Regions from separate parts of the Homo sapiens genome. Here region 1 is linked to region 2. Evidence: promoter capture Hi-C in 16 types of primary human blood cells and fetal thymus (Javierre and others, 2016). All regions are on one chromosome and are shown on one strand. Each heading gives the region's core, a stretch centred on a gene start or on the middle of the fragment in contact. The rest is flanking DNA. Distances are from core to core; before and after follow the strand shown. Region 1 has its middle 53 kb from the start of MPHOSPH6. Region 2 holds the start of MPHOSPH6 (M-phase phosphoprotein 6).

Region 1 (5,941 bases), core at 2,897-5,396, 52 kb before region 2:
AAAAATCTATTCTGGTGCAGGAAACTACAAATGGCCATTAATTCTGGCTTTTGGTCCATAATTCCTTTCCTGTATGGGACCCATTTGCTCATCTAACAGAAGCATTTGACTGACTACTTATTTTTGTCATTTTTTTTACAATAACAGCAATCCTATGAAGTAGAGCAGATTTCAAGTATTTGTTCCTCCATTTTATGGTGATAACCTCAGATTAAGAAAGATCAAGTGACTTGCATAGATTACAGCTATGAAGTGGTATAGCCAGGACCCCATTTATCAAGCAGTCCAGCTACTGGCCATCCGCAGCATCTCAGACTGGTCTCTCCCCTCGGTTTCTTCAATCAGGCAGTGCTCTCTGGCATCTTTATTCCTTGCCAGTGAGCCTGGGGTTGCTGCTTTCACACACAACTCACTGTCAGTGGCTACGACTCTTTTCGTTTACTTTCAGCTGCCAGAAAAGATTCTTCTTCCAACCTCAATGATGTTGGTAACTTCAGCTTCCACTAAAAATATTTTTTCTACTGAAAAAGCTGTGGTGGTTTGTGTAGGGGAAACAAAAATGTAGATCTTAATTGAATATCCTCTGTTCTGTAGGTTCATTTATTTGTGATGAGATGAACTTTCTTTTTCTTCACCCTGGCCCCATCCACCTTATCATCTTTCTAGGGTATGGCACATACAAAGCTTGGTGCCAGAAGGAGAATTTAGTGATAAAATTCAATGTAGAAGAAAAAGAGATGAAGACTATTAGCATCATAACAAACAGAAACTGCCATGGGATCAATGTTGGCAGTATAAAAGATCCAGTTGTCAGGATCAAAACCTACCACAACCACCACTCATTCTAGAGTGGAGCCAAATGGAGCTGGATGGTTGAGAAGCTGCTGCAGAGGCCAAGAAGAATAAACAGGTCTGAAGCTGAAGACAAAAGGGGGCTACTCCAAAATCTTATTCTACCTATGGACTCAGTTCAACTTGAGAATAAAGGATCATTTAGGGTATTCTCTTGAACTGCATGTGCTTGATTCCCAAATGCTAATTGCTTAATAATGGACTGGATCACCATCGCCTCCTATAAACAGGGTCGTAGATTGGGTCATGCTACAAGCATTGCCTTATCATCAACCAAGAACCAGGCAGTGACATGAATAATAATATATGGACTTTCCTTAAGAAACTCACAGTCCCAGGGACTTTTTGAAGATAATGACTATGATGGTTAATTTTATGTGTCAACATGACTGAGCTAATGCATGCCCAGATAGTTAGTAAAATATTATTCCCAGGTGAGTCTAGGAGAGATTAGCATTTGAATCAGTAAACTCAACAAAGAAGATCAATCTTCACTATCCAATCCATTGAGGGCACGAATGAACAAAGTGATGGAGGAAGGGTGAATTCTCTCTCTTTCTCTCTTCTTGAGCTGGGATATCCATCTTCTCCTGGCATTTGACAATGGAGCTCCTGGTTCTTGGGCCTTCAGACTCCAGGACTTATGTCCGCACCAACCACCCACCTCCCCACCCTCCAGGTTCTCAGGCCTTTGGACTTAAACTGAATTACCCCACCAGCTACAAATGGCATATCAAGGGTCTTCTCTTGCCTCACCAAGTGAGCCAGTCCTCATAATAAATCACTTCTCATATCTCTCTTTACATATTCTACTGGTTTTATTTCTCTGGAGAACTTTAATATAATGACCATGGACATTTAAACTTTTAAATGAGCTTATTATTATCCTCTCATAAAATTTTCAATGAAGGTATTAAGACCTCATCAAGACAATGGATACAGATGTCTGCTGCAGTCAAACCATAAATGAAAAGCAAAAATGAAACTTAGAGCAAAACCTTTGAGAACAATGACCTCTGTCCCTCTGAGCACTGAATAATAACTAATATATACCATACTCAATTTTTCATATACCCAATTTCTTATTTTATAATAATATGAATACCTACAAGGTAAGTACTATTACTATTATACCCATTTCACAGAAGAAACTGAACATCAGAAAACTTAATAAACGAGCTCACTTTGCTTTTGCTTTTTCCTGAACTACTAATCCCAGGCTAACACAACCCAGCAGGCGCCTGCCCTCTCTGGATAGAACAGCTGCAAATGCTAAGAAATATTAAAGCCTTTGTTTTAATTAACTTGAGGATTTTTCCAATGTTCTGGCTTGGCATGTGGTTATTGAATCTGGTTACTGAATGTTTGGTAGTAGGCCATTCTGCTTGCCAATTCAAATTTATTCACACTGAATAGCTTTTATTTTAAAACAACAAAATCACAAATAAGGCACTAAAAATACAGAGCCAAACTTTGCGAATTTAATGTCACAACCAAATTCAGGTATTTCTTAAGGAAAAAATGTCAGTTGAGAACAGGATGTATAAAGACTTTATTAAATGCTACATTTTCTAATGCTGCTTTAAATTTATTTGTGTTGAAGTAAATGAAGATCATTCTAATAAAAAATGATATTTTTACAGTTGGAAGTATTTTTTTCTTTTTAAGAACCTTAGTTGTTTTTATTCCTCATAATGATTCTTATGAACATATCTTACTAATTGTTCAATAGTGTTTCCTATCAGAGCTATTTGGGATATATTCCTTGAATGATTACGATTTGAAGCACAACAGAAAATTCATAAGAGTTTCTCTTCTGCAAAACATGTTTTCTAAAAACATAATAAAACACTGGTGAAAATCCTATAACCATGTATACAAAAAAGATAGGAGGGAAGATAAGTATAGTGGATGTGAAAAAGTGAGATAAATCCCCATCTTTCACCCTATACAAAAGTCAACTCCAAATGGATTAAGGACTTAGAGGTAAGACCTGATACTATGAAACTACTAGAAAAAAAAAAAAAAAAACTTTGATCTGGGGAAAGATTTTTGGGGGTTAGACTTCAAAAGCATCAGTAACAAAAGCGAAAACAGACAAATGTGATTGTATCAAGCCAAAAACTTCTGCACAGCAAAGAGAACAATTAATGAAGTGAAAAGACCACCTACAGCATGGGAGAAAATATTTGCAAACTATCCATCTGTCTCAGTTTGTGTTGCTTTAAAGGAATACCTGAGACTAGGTGACTTATAAAGAAAAGAGGTTTATTTAGCTCACTGTTCTGCAGGCTGTACAAGAATCCTGGCACCAGCTTCTGCTTCTGGTGAGGGCTTCAGGCTGCTTCCACTCATGGTGGAAGGTGAAGGAGAGCAGGTGTGTACACAGACCACACGGTGTGACAGCAGGGAAGAGAGAGGGGTGAAAGGTACCACCAGACTCTAAACAATCAGCTCTTTGGAACTAATAGAGGGATAACTCGCTCATTACCACAAGGATGGCACCAAGTCATTCATGAGGGATCTGCCCCCATGACCCAAACACCTCCCATTAGGCCCCACCTCCATTGTTGGGGATCAAATTTCAATAGAAGGTTTGGAAGGTCAGATATCCGAACTATAGCACCATCCGATAAGGAATTAACAACCAGAATATATAAGGAACTCAAACAACTCAAGAGCAATAAAACAAACAACAGCAAATAATCTGATCTTAAAACGGACACAGGCACAGAGGCACATGCCTATAGTCCCAACTACTCAGGTGGCTGAGGCAAGAGGATTGAGCCCAGGAGTTTGAAGCTGGCCTGGGCAACACCCCAGTTGACCCCATTCCTAGTTTTTTTTAATGGGCAAAAAACCTGAACAGCCAGTTCTCAAAAGAAAATATACAAATGGCCGAAAGTTAAGCAAAAAAAAAAAAAAACTCAACATCACTAATCTTCAGGGAAATGCAAATCAAAACCACAATGAGATATCATCTCACTCCAGTTAGATTGATTATTATCAAGAAGATACAAAATAATAAATCCCGGAGGGCACAGTGGCTCACACCTGTAATCCCAGCACTTGGGGAGGCTGAGGCAGGCTGATCACTTGAGGTCAGGAGTTCCACACCAGCCTGCCCAATATGGCGAAACCCTATCTCTAGTAAAAATACAAAAATTAGCTGGGCATGATGGCACACACCTGTAATCCCAGCTACTCAGGAGGCTGAGGCATGAGAATCGCTTGAACCCAGGAGGTGGAGGTTGCAGTGAGCCAAGACCATGCCATTGCACTCCAGCCTGGGTGACAGAACGAGACTCCATCTCAAAAATAAAATAAATAAAATAAAATAAAACAAATCCTGGAAAGAATGCAGAGAAAGGGGAATTCTTGTATACTGTTGTAGAAATGCAAAGTAGTACAGCCATACGAAAAATATTATGGAGATCCTCAAAAAACTAAAAATAGAACTGCCATATGATCCAAAAATACCGCCGCTGGGTATATATCCAAAAGAAAGGAAATCATTATATTGAAGATATACTGCACTCCCATGTTTATTAGAGCACTATTCACAACAGTCAAGATACGGACTCTACCTAAGTGTGCATCAATGGATAAAGAATATGTAGTTTGTATACACAATGGAATATTATTCAGCAATAAAAAGAGTGAAGCCCTGTCATTTGCAGAAACATGGATGGAACTGGAGGTCATTATGTTAAGTGAAATAAGCCAGGCACACAAAAACAAATATCACATGTTCTCATGCCTATGTGGTAGCTAAAAAAAAATAGATCTCATGGCGGTAGAGAGTAGAATAGTGCTTACCAGAGGCTGGGGAGGGAAGGAGGAAAAGGGGGAAAGAGAAGTTGGTTAATGGGTACAAAAATACAGTTACATGGAAGAATAAGTTTTAGTATTTGATAGTTCAGTAGGGAAATTATAGTTAACAATAATTTATTGTAGATTTAAAAGTAGCTAGAAGAGAAAGAATTGTAACGTTCCCAACACAGGGGAAAGAAAAATGTTTGAGGTGATAGGTAACCCAATTGCCATGATTTGATCACTACACATTGTATATAGGTATCAAAACATCACGTGTACCCCCCAAGTACGAACTATGATATGTCAATTTTTTTAAAGTTATGAAACATTTTTAAAGGGAAGTATAGAATAAAAGGGAAAATGAGGAAGAGAAGACTGAAGTAATCAGAAGAGAAAAGAAAGGGGAAAAGGAAAGAAAAGAAAAGAAAGGAAAGATGGAAAAAAAGAAGGTTCTTGCTTTGGCTTTCGGTGTAATCCTGCCCTTTGCCATGCTTATGTCACACACTCACACCATACACACACACATACATCATATACACACCACACACCACACACACCACACACACATACCACACACACTGCACACACACCATACCACACACACATCATACACACACCATACAACACACACACACACATCATACACACACACATCACACACACACCACACACACCCCACACCACATACACAAACCACACATGCCACACCGCACACTCACACACCACACACACCATGCACACGCCACACACACCCCACACACCACATACACATCATACACTCACACCACACACATCATACGCATATGCCACACACCACACACACACCATGCACAGCACACACACACATCATACACACACCACACACACCACACCACACACACACCACACACCACAGCACACACACACCACACAACACACATCGTACACACACACCACACATTCACACACCACACACAATCACATACCCACACACAAACACTATGAACCACAGCACACACACCACGAATCACACAGCACACACACCACACCATACACACAGCACACACACCACGCCACACACCCCACACACCACATCACACACACCACACACACACATCACACACACAAACCACATTCATACACCTCACACACCACACACTACTTCTTTACAGTTGTCTCAGCCCCACACATCTGGCACATGATGTAGAAGTTGGCAACATTTTGATGATCCGAGATATTCCTTTCAAGAATACAAACGAAGGCCATAAACACATCAATTATTTTCAATTGTTTT
Region 2 (5,861 bases), core at 238-2,737:
TTACACGCTATTATACCCCCGGCATCTCACACACAGTCACAAGTGAATGAGATTCTGTAGCCACTTGGTACATTACAATGATTTTATTTACCCCTGGGAAAACCTAAAGGGCTTTTAACATCCAAATCGGTGTTTGAATTTCAGCTCTAACATGGATTAGCTGTGTGAACACCAAGTGCGTTACCCACTCTGTGTCTCAGAATCCTTAACAACACGATGACAATACCTTCTTTCCGGTTCTTATGGGGATTAAGTGAACTAATTAGCCCTAAGGTGACCAGGTCAACAATCTGACGTAGAACTCATGGTATCAGCCGAGATGCTATTAGCTTGAGGGTGTTCCAAAGCGTCGGACCTGGGAATGGTTTTCGAAAACGTGTTTAGGTGGTACCCAGAGCATTAAACACCAGGGTAGGAACGCTACCCTATTTTCAGTGGTTTTTTAAATTCTTTTTTGTTTTGTTGTTTTGTTTTTGAGACAAAGCCTCACTCTGTAGCCCAGACTGGAGTCCAGTGGCGGGATGTCAGCTCACTGCAGCCTCGACGTCCCGGGTTCCAGTGATTCTCCAGCCTCAGCCTCCCAAGTAGTGGAGACCACAGATCCGTGCCACCACACCCAGCTATTTTTGTTGTATCTTTTGTACATTTTTTGTATATTTTGTATATATTTTTTGTATGTATATTTTGTATATTTTTTGTGTATATATATATATATATATATATATATTTTTTTTTTTTTTTTTTTTTTTTTTTTTTTTGTAGAGGTGGGGTCTCCCTATGTTGCCCCTCGCTATGGTCTTTTCAATTCTTTGGATCAAAACCAGGCTTTGTTCTCATTCATGTGTCTTTGGCACCCATCCCTGCCTCCATCCCTTGCCATTTCTTGAGATTCTTCTGTTTAGCAGAGATCACTCGGCCAGACACGCATCGGCAGCAGCCTGGGAATGAAGCCAGCCTGCCTGGGGCGGCCCCCGCCGCGCTCCCCCGGGACTCCGGGCTGCTGTGAGGAAAGCAGCAACTCGTGGGGTCCTGGTGAAGAGAAAACGACCTGGACCCTGCAAAGCGACCCAGAACAAAGGGAGCCCGCCACCCACGTTATGAAGACAAAACACGTGGGTAACACGGCCCAGGCGGGTGGCAGGCGTGGCGGAAACCTCTCTGAGGCTGGCGAGGACTACTGAGTGTGGAGGGGGTCCCTGAGGAAGGGAGTCCCCGAGGGAGGATGGGCCTCCGAGGGGGCCAGGCCGACGTCCCGGGAAGGCGACCCGCGGCTCGGGGAAGCCAAGTTCTGGGTCGTCCTCTGACTTCGGCTTTTTTGCGGTCTGCCGCGCTCATCCCCGCGCCCGCCACCCCGCGAGCTTACCCGAGCCTCTCAGTCAGCAGAGCGCCCGCTGAGTGGCCGCGCCCGCGCGCAAGACACAGGGGAGGGGCGGGGCGGGGCGGCGCGCACTACGCGAGGGACGCAGCTGCGCACGCGGCTCCGCGCATGTGCGGTGAGGCTCGCGGCCGGAGTGCGGCGCTGGGCGGAAGCTACCATGGCGGCCGAGCGAAAGACAAGGTTGTCCAAGAATCTACTGCGCATGAAGGTGCGGGGACGCTGAGAGCGCCACTCCGGGCGGTAGGGGCACCCGGTCCTTCCAACCTGGCCGGGGCCGAGGCGGCGGGCGGACAAGGGACACCAGAGAGGCCTCAGAGGGCTTCCAGCTCTCGTGCTCATTCATTCACTTAGCGCCTGCTCTGCACTGTTTACTGGGAACCAGCTTACGAATTAGGCCGACTCTCTCAGGAGGCCCGCGGGCGGATGGGAGCTTGAGTACACAGAAGCAGTCAGGGTACAGCTTACCCAGTGCAGTGAGGGTAGAAGCGCTGGGGACCTTGGGGACTCACCGAGCTTCTCGAGAAGTTGTTGCTTACTTATATATGCAATAAATATGATATATGGGAAGTGTAACTCCTTAGCTGGGTAATTTAGGTAAATTCACTTCTTTCTCTGAATATCTCTTTTCCTCATCTTTAAAAAGAAGAGCATTAGGCTACATGAGTTCAAGCTCCTTTTTAATTTTGATAATACTTCTTTTAGTAGAGTTCTTCAGAGAAACAGAATCAACAAGATGTATATGTGTATATATGTGTATGGAGAGAGGGGGTATTTTTAAAACTGGATCACACGACTGTGGAGATGCAAGTCTAAAATCTGCAGGGTGGGCCAGTAGGCTGGAGACCCAGAGAAGTACTCAGTCCAAGTCCAAAGACAGTCTGCTGGCAGAACTCCCTCTTCTTCCAGGGAGAAGAGGGTGAGTCTCGCAGGGTAGTCTCTAGGTTACTGGGAGGGTGGAAGGCACAGCGTCCTAAACTAGGAGAAACTGAGTTCAGAAGTCTGAGAGGCAAGAAAGAAAAAGAAAACCATGGAAATTTCCAAGAATTAGAGACAATTCAGTATGTCTGGAAGGCAAGTACTAAGAAATGGGGTTGCAGAGTAGGCAATGGTCACAACGTGCAGGGAATTTGAGGCCAGATTAAAGATATTTTCCTTTATTTTGTGAGCAATGGAAAGCTATTGAAACGGGGAACAGTATCAAGAAAATGGCAAATATTTATAGTACTAGACAATGATTGAAGTGGTTTGCGTATATTAACCTATGCAATTCACATAATGACACTTTGAGGTGACTACAGGCAGTAACTCTCTTCTTACAGCTAAGGCAACTGAAACAGAAATAAGTAATTTACCCAAAGTTACACAGCTAATAAGTAGTGTAGACAGGACGGGAATTCAGGCAGTCTGGCTCCAGAACCCTGGCTCTTTATTACTACTCTGTACTCTGTGATGCCTGTCACTAAGCACTACTTCTAGAGAGTAGCAAACTGTTACATGTCATGTTTAAAGAGGTGGAATTTCCAAAAGAGGGAAGGAAGCATTCATAATGTTTTGAAAGATAGGCCATTCGCAGTGGCTCATGCCTGTAGTCCCAGCACTTTGAGAGGCTGAGGTAGACAAATCGCTTAAGCCCAGGTGTTTGAGACCATCCTGGGCAACATGGTGAAACCCCATCTCTACAAAAAATACAAAATATTAGCCAGGCCTAGTGGCACGCACCTTTAGTCCCAGCTACTTGGGAGGCTGAGGTGGGAGGATCACTTGAGCTTGGGAGATCAAGGCTGCAGTGAGCTGAGATGGCGCCACTGCACTCCAGCCTTGGTGACACAGGGAGACCCTGTCTCAAAAAAAAAAAAAAAAGAGAGAGAGTAAACATTATATGGGCAAGATTTGAATGGAGTTGAGCTAGGATGGAGTTAGGGATGAATGGGTGAATGAGGGTGGAGGACAAATTGCAGCATAACTTAGAGTTTGTCAAGCACTTTCATGCATATTAGCAAAATTTGAATCTTTACTGAACAGAGTTTGATTTTATGGTTGGTAATAACATTAACTTCAGAGAAGTGGAGTGAATTGGCCAAGCAGATATTGGAAAGATTTTAGCAGTTGTTTTAGCTCTTGGAATAAGCCAGATGATGTACTGGGTGACTCAGGCTCAAACTAAATATCCGAGTTGCAACTAAGAAGAAAGAAATTAACTTAAATGTCCACCCCCACCAAATGGGGAGACTCAACTGGACGTTGGAAGCAAAGGAGAAGGAAAAAGATCACCCACATTCTCTATTTGGTTTAGCAGCTTTGGTCATTGATAAGAAAAAACTTACTGGCAAGATAGCAGGAGACACTGTCTATACTGATAGAACAGAGTATACTGTGAGAAGGCATGGAGTAGCTGCACTTAGGGTGCCTTAACCAGAGCTAAGTCCTATATAGCATGGGTCCCCAACCGCCAGGCCATGGACCAGCACCAGTCCATGACCTGTAAGGAACAGGCTGCACAGCAGGAAGTGAGCAGCGGGCAGGCAAGCGAGCGAAACTTCATCTGTATTTACAGCTGTTCCCCATAGCTTGCATTACCACCTGAGCTCCGCCTCCTGTCAGATCAGTGGCAGAATCCTAGATTCTCCTAGGATCAGAAACCCTACTGTGAACTGTGCATATGAGGGATCTACCTTGCGCTCTACTTACGAGAATCTAATGCCTGATGATCTGTCATTGTCTCCCATCACACCCAGATGGGACTGTCTAGTTTCAGGAAAACAAGCTCAGGTCTTCCACTGATTCTTCATTGTGGTGAGTTGTATAATTATTTCATGACATATTATAATATAATAATAGAAACAAAGTGCACAATAAATGTAATGCACTTGAATCATCCCTAAACCATCTACCCTTCCCCTCTCCACCACCCGTGGAAAAATTGTCTTCCAGGAAGCCCATCCCTGGTGCCAAAAAGGTTGGGGACCACTTTTTAGGCAAGTATAAGAGGGTTGAGGATTTAATCCTGACTCACTTCAATGCCTCTGACTTGGTCAGCCATTGCAGGGTGATCCTAATGGGAAGAAGAAAAAGAAGGATGTGGATGGAAGGTCTTCCAGTATGGAATGGTTGTAGAGGGTGCTTATTTGTGATTTTGGCACTGTTAGACTCTCAGAACAGGGCTTGGCAAACTTTCTGTAAAGGACCATATGATAAATATTTTGGTCTTATGAGCCAGACAGTCTCTGTTACAACTACTCAGCTCTGCCAGTGTTGTTCAAGACCGAATGACCATGGTTGTGTACCAGTAAAACTTTATCGACGACAACAGACATCTAGCCTGAGGACTGTATTATGCTGATGCCTGCTCTGAGTCCTCACTAGTTTTGGAATGTGTTCTGAAATGCTCTAGAGTAGGAGAATCGAACTTGTACCTAAGTCTGGAGGTGCTTGATTCATATTCACAGGGAGTTCTGTCCTTTCTATGTGTACAGAACATATGTATATGGCTGTTGTATACCAAAAGAATAGGTACATGACTAAATGGGAGAAAAAAGGGCAGTTGGGCAGTATTGATGAGTTTTACCACGAGGAATATTAGTGATGAAATGAGGCATCTGCATTTAAAGAAAACCATCCCAGAAAGAGAATCTGGAAAAATAAGATAGGTCTAGGTTCATTTCCATTCAGAGAACTTTCACTGAGTGAGCTCTTTTGTGTACCAGGGGTGCCGCCTAAGTACCAATGATACAAGATGAACAAGAGTCATGGTCTATTCAGAATCGTAGTCCTGGGAGACACCAAAGCAGCACGATGGTGAACAATATTCCAGTGTTGATGAGGCTGTCTTGAGAATGTGCTTCTTTATAGGAGCAGACCTAGGAAGAGCCAAGCCAAATGCCAACCAGGAAGTCTTACCAAAGGACACACACTGTAGGCTTAAAAGAGTAAATATTTTGCCAGGCAGAAAATGGAAACGTGTTAAGTCGCAAAGGCAAAAGGACTGGGAAGTATAGCGTGCACATTCCAGAAACTGCAGTTCTTTCCTGGGATGAGGATGTACACACAGGTAAAATGGATGACGACTGCAAAACACTAGTCTGCAAACTTGTTTTCTTTTACTTTTTACTTAAAATAGTGATAGATTCACAGGAAGTTGCAAAAAGTGTACAGGGATATCCCGTGCGTCCTTCATGCCACCTCCCCTAGCGGCAACATTTTACAACACTAGGATATGATAAAGAGCCAGGACATTGACAGTGAGCTGACGCAGATTTCACCATTTTACACGCACTCATTTTGCGTGGACGGTTGCTGGGTCATATGGTAAGTGTATGTTTAGTTTGCTAAGAAACTGCCATGCTGTTTTCCACAGTGGCTGTACCATTTACTTTCCCACCAGCTATGTTTGAGTGATCAGTTTCTTCACATTCTCTTCAGCACTTGATGTTATCACCATCATGTGTTACTTAACACATGATTTAACAACAGGGATACGTTCTGA

Evidence for each region. Contacts are between HindIII fragments. The CHiCAGO score rates a contact against its expected background, and 5 or more counts as called.
Region 1: a fragment that was not itself captured here is called in contact with the fragment with the promoter of MPHOSPH6 in region 2 in 1 of 17 cell types (monocytes); the score reaches 6.1 in monocytes.

What each region holds. Positions count from the first base shown.
Region 1 is chr16:82,220,215-82,226,155 of GRCh38, reverse strand. No RefSeq gene overlaps it. Among named protein-coding and RNA genes, the nearest start is that of MPHOSPH6, 53 kb to the right of the region's middle. The HindIII fragment of the contact is 6,919 bases long and covers 687-5,941 here.
Region 2 is chr16:82,165,850-82,171,710 of GRCh38, reverse strand. It overlaps MPHOSPH6 (M-phase phosphoprotein 6), which reads left to right and starts at 1,487. Exons shown (of 5, transcript NM_005792.2): 1 at 1,487-1,586. The coding sequence starts at 1,536. RefSeq lists a silencer at 1,352-1,511, cis regulatory regions at 1,558, 5,718, 5,855 and enhancers at 1,486-1,630, 5,646-5,790, 5,783-5,861. The HindIII fragment of the contact is 21,548 bases long and covers 1-5,861 here.